Regions from separate parts of the Homo sapiens genome. Here region 1 is linked to region 2. The links are contacts of gene promoters, found by promoter capture Hi-C in blood cells and fetal thymus (Javierre and others, 2016). All regions are on one chromosome and are shown on one strand. Each heading gives the region's core, a stretch centred on a gene start or on the middle of the fragment in contact. The rest is flanking DNA. Distances are from core to core; before and after follow the strand shown. Region 1 has its middle 110 kb from the start of SNX7. Region 2 holds the start of PLPPR4 (phospholipid phosphatase related 4).

Region 1 (2,700 bases), core at 188-2,687, 490 kb after region 2:
TATTGAATCAAATAGTACATAAATCATAAACTGTGAATTATGGAGATTAATATACATTTTAAATAAAAATAATAGCTACAATGTTTGGAATAGTCTCAATGGGTAGGCTGCTTCCATGTATATCATATCTTTTCAAAGTCATAAATACACGATAATATGTTAGCATGATCACTTTGAAGATTTGAACATAAGCAAACTTTTAAAATTTTCAATTTAAAAATGATTTAACATAATTTGTGCAGAAAGGCAGAGGATATATCACACGATCTGTTACCTGTGACCACTCTGATATCATCCCCAGCACTCTTCCCCTCCCTCATTCACATTGCTCCAATCATCCTGGCTTCCCTGTTGTTCTTGAAGACACCAAGTTTAATGTTGGCTTAGGGTATTGGTATTTACTGTTCCCTCTCCTGAGATATTCCTTCCTCTGTACCCGCAAGACTGGCTTCATCACTACTTCATATATATCATTGTCTTCTCAAAGAGACAGTCACTGACTACCCTGTGTCATATAGCTGCCCCACTCTCTAACCCCTTGCCTTGATACAGTTTTCTTCACTGTACTTGTTGCCATCATATTAAATACTTGCCCGTTTGTTTACTCTAGATCTCTTTCCACTAGAATATAAGCTCCAAGAGAGCAGACTTTGTCATTTTCTTCACCACTGGCTCCTCCCAGTGTATAATAGTGCCTGGCACATAGTATCATTCAATAAGTACATAAGTATTTCTTAAATAAATGACTCAATTGGTTGCTCTTATTTACTTAAAAATATATTTTACATGTGTTACGAATAAATTCATTTGGACTTTCTTAGTTCATTATAGATTAGAAACAAAACTCCAAAACAATGGTCTAATTCTGACTTTCTTGAGACATATTTTGAGAATATTTTGCAAAAATGATCACCAGTACTCATCACTGCTATGGATTTGCCTAAGGAGAAAAGGGATACCTCAATTTACTATGTTAACTTAACCCAGGAAATGTTGAGATATACAGAGCCCCACAATTCCAACACTCATTAGCCACGCAAATTAAGTTTTTCATAAAAATTTTAGTGAACGCAAAAGGTTATTGTGGAAAAAAAATTCTAGTGATTGTATTTCTGTTGCTGTGTGCCAGGCATTGTATTTAGTACTTGACATGTATTAACGTATTTAATTCTCACTTCAGAGCTCTCTGAGGCACTATTATCACGCTATTTGTTATGGGCTGAATTACATCCCCCTCAAAATTCATATGTTGAATTTCCAACCTCAGTACCTCAGAATGTGACTGTATTTGGAGTTGGGTCTTTAAAAAAATGAGTTAGGTAAAATGAACTCATATAGGTGATCTCTAATCCAATATGACCAACATGCTTATAAGAAGAGGAGATTAGGACTCAGACAACACACAGACTATGAGGCATTGTAGTAGTTAAGAGTTCTCCAGAGAAACAGAACCAATGGGATTTTATATACAGATGGTGCCTGGCTTACAATGGTTTGATTTAGGGTTTTTCAACTTTATGATGGTGTAAAAGCAATAGGTATTCATTAGAAACCATACTTCGTGCAGCCATGCACTATTCTGTTTTTCACTTTCAGTACAATATTCAATAATTTATATGAGCTATTTAATATTATATTATATAATAGGCTTTATGTTAGATGACTTTGCCTAACTGTGGGCTGAGGTAAGTGTTCTCAGAGCATTTAAGGTACGCTAGACTAAGATATCTCTTCAGTAGGTTAGGTGTAATAAATACATTTTTGACATAGGATATTTCAACTTATGATGGGCTTATCAGGATATAACCCCATTGTAAGTCAAGGAGATTTATTTGAAGGCTCTCAAGATTATGAAGGCTGCCAAAAAAAAAAAAAAATCTGCAGGGTGGGCCAGCAGGCTTGAGACCTAGGAAAGAGGCAATGTTGCAGATGAAGGTCCAAGGCAGTCTGCTGGCAGAATTTCCTCTTGCCCAGGTCAAGTCAGTCTTTTGTCCTATCCAGGCCTGCATCACCAAAAACAATATATTTTATTCAAAGGTCATGCACTTAAATGTAAATGCCATCCAAAAACATTCTGAATAACATTTGACCAACTCTCTGGGCACCATAGCTCAGCCAAGTAGACACATAAAATTAATCATCACAAGTCCACTCCATGTGAACTTGGTGCCCACACACATCTTTAACCATACAGTAATCCCCCCAGACTCATTGTTTTGATTTCCTTGGTTTCAGCTACTCAAGTCAACCATGGTCCTAAAATATCAAATTAAAATTACAGAAATAATCAATTCATAAGTTTTAAATTGAACACTGTTCCGAGTAGTGTGCTGAAATCTCACACCATCCCACTCTGACCCCGAGACGTGAATCCTCCCTTTGTCCAGCATGTCCACTGTCTATTCTCTCTGCCCATTAGCCACTTAGTAGCTAACTTGGTTATCAAATAGACTGTCATGGTTTACAGTGCTTGTGTTCAAGTAACCCTTATTTTACTTAATAGTGGTCCCAAGGCGCAAAAGTAGTGATACTCGCAATTTGGGTATGCCAAAGAGAAGTTATAAAGTACTTCCTTTAAGTGAAAAAGTAGAAGTTCTTGACTTAATAAGGAAAGAAAAAAAACATATGCTGAGGTTGTTAAGATCTACAGTGAAAATGCATGTTCTATCTGTGAAATTGTGAAGAAGTGAAAAGAAATTC
Region 2 (2,700 bases), core at 75-2,574:
GTCTCTTCTCCCAAGTTTCAAGGCAGTGACTATTCCTCAGGACAGATAAGCCTTACAATCATTGAATACAGAATCTACTGTTTGCACTTCGAAGGGCTAAACCTCCATATTTGGCTGAAAAGATGGCCAGAGAAGGATATTTATGATTCAGCAACAGTCTTATAATTCTCTATGCAACCCAGACTCTAACTAAACAGAATATAGTTTTGTGCCTAAAACCATCTGATTTCCCTAAATCTATGCAATACAACCCTTCAGTATCTGTAATTTAATAAACCTCTTGCTTAAAAATGTCTTCCTAATGCAATGGAGCACAGTACACGGAATCACTGTATCTGCCAATCTTTATAACACTCCTATGAATTGTTTCTCCCTCAAATACTGCATTTTGGTAAGTTAGAGGGTCATTACGGATACATCTGCATTTAATTGTTTATCTATAATACTGCTCAGCACAGTAAATACTCAGATACAAATCATGTAAAATCAGATGATGTCATAGATTTAAAATATTATATATAGTTATGTATACACACATATATAATATGTATTTTTTACTGTGGAAAGAGGCCAGTACATTGATGATTGATGTTTAGAGATGCAGATCCAATTTCAGAAGCGTATGTGAGCACCAAAATAATATAATAGGAGAAGGATTTGGGGGGGGGGGGCAGGAGCAATAAAAGCAATTAACAATATTTGTACTATGTAAACACCTTCAACCCTCATATGCCCTAGGCATAGCTGTGTGCACACGGAGTTCCCGACACGTACTCGGCAGGTTGAAGACACAAATCCCGAAATATGGGCATCATGGCCCCTCTGGGGCACTAGCGGACGTTGTGCACACAGGCACTACAGGAGGGCCAAGGAACTAAAACCACACTCACTCACACAGGTATCCGTTCCCTGCAGGCCACCCAGCAGCGACACCTCTAATGGTAATCACCCCGGGCTGACAGGTATTCACAGGCACATTCGGGGAGCTGCTGTGAAATCTAGGGGAAGAGGGGAGGGTCGGGCATTTGGGGACAGCCGCGCGCGCCCGGCAGGATCTCTGCGCCTCCAACACTGTCCAGGACCTGAATTCGCTCAGGAGATGCCCAGAGGATCTGCATTATGCCAAGGCACTGGGCCAACTCACCTCGACGAAATAAAAGCAGGGCAGGAGGGTGACGCTGTCCTTGATCACTTTGCCCTTTGGCCTCTCCTTCGCCGACATCCCTGCCGCCTGCCCGGGTCTGCGTCCTCCCCCGGGCGAGGTGTGCACAGCGCAGCTGAGGCGAGCTGCCTCCTCCAGCCCCAAGCGCCCGGCGCCGCTGATGTCACATTCCCCGCGGCCACCGCTGGAGCCAGCGCGCTGCATGCAGCGCCCCCGCCTTCTCCCCGCCCCTTTTTGCAGCAACCCAGCTATTCCCTGAGCGGGCCAGTCCTCTTCCTCCCCTAGTCTGGCTCCTGCTCCCCGTTTTTCTGGCGAGAGACGACGTCCAGCTCCCTCCTCCAAGCTGTTGCTGCAATGGCTTCCCCTCCCTGTCACCCTCCCTCAGCTCTCTACCGCCCTTGCGACGCTCCAAGGCTGTCGGAGCTTGACGTCAAGAATCCGAAAAGGAGGACGCACTCCTGGTTTCTGCAGTAGTTAGGCTGAGGAGCTAAGCCACCTAGTCTCCTCCTGGGGAGCCTCCTAGGTCACTCTAGGAATGCTATTAAAGAATGCTAAGGATCAGAAGCCCTGCTCCAGCGCGCTGACCCATAGCAAGAAAACCAACCCCTACCTCCACGAAATGAGATCTTGGATCCCATACTGAAAAGTAGGCTGAGGTAGGCATTAACTGACAGCTTGTTGCTACCCAGGAATGACAGCTCCTACGGGGGATTCTCTGCCTAGGAGACTCCTTATCTCCCTTCCATATCGAAGCACCCACTAACAAACACTACCGGTTGTGTGGGAATGATGTGGGTTCCTTGCATCCAGAGAGGCAGATGTGTGAATGCACAGGTAATGGGCATCCTCATTGAGCCCAGAGGCTACTGTATGTTCTAATCTCACTGTCACACCCCCAGAACAGTGTCAGTATTGCAATCATAACAGTAAAAAGAAGTATGTCTTCAGATATTAATAATCTAAAGTCCTTCATCTTGTTGGCAGTATACATGGCTAGTCTCAATTTTGTGATTACTTTGGCAACCAGAAGTATCAAGTTGATATAGAAGAGAGAAAGACCCAGCAAACACGAGACATGATATTATACTAATAAAGATGACCTAATTTTGTGATCACATGTCCCAGGCCATTTCCAATATCTCCAAGTCTCCATTTCAAGCATGTGATGGCCAATTCCCAACTCATTTATCCATTTCCCTTTTTTAGTTGCTCCTCCAATAGGTCTTTGGCAGTATGGGACCATCCTATCTAATAATATACTCATTTCACTGCCAACACCACCTCTTGCCCCCACTTTCTTCTGCCAGGCTTGGGTTCCAAAGTCTAGCAATATAATTGCTTGTTTCCGCCTCCCAATTTGCCATACTCACCTGATAATATCCCGGCTTAGTTGAACCCAATTCTCTGCCCTTACCAGAGCAACTGAAAGTGGCTGGAGAAAAACACACAACCGCATGATGCTGTCTCACATCCAACTCATGACCACAAACTCCAAGTAGGTCCTGGAGTTGCCCCCACGATTCTATAATTTTTTCTGT

What was found. The method cuts DNA at HindIII sites, captures the fragments that hold promoters and counts their contacts. A CHiCAGO score of 5 or more calls a contact.
Region 1: a contact is called between a fragment that was not itself captured here and the fragment with the promoter of PLPPR4 in region 2, in 1 of 17 cell types (naive CD8 T cells). The highest score is 5.0, in naive CD8 T cells.

What each region holds. Positions count from the first base shown.
Region 1 is chr1:98,774,998-98,777,697 of GRCh38, reverse strand. No RefSeq gene overlaps it. Among named protein-coding and RNA genes, the nearest start is that of SNX7, 110 kb to the right of the region's middle. The HindIII fragment of the contact is 8,099 bases long and covers 1-2,700 here.
Region 2 is chr1:99,263,116-99,265,815 of GRCh38, reverse strand. PLPPR4 (phospholipid phosphatase related 4) reads right to left here and starts at 1,324. Exons shown (of 7, transcript NM_014839.5): 1 at 1,145-1,324. The coding sequence starts at 1,222. The HindIII fragment of the contact is 14,890 bases long and covers 1-2,700 here.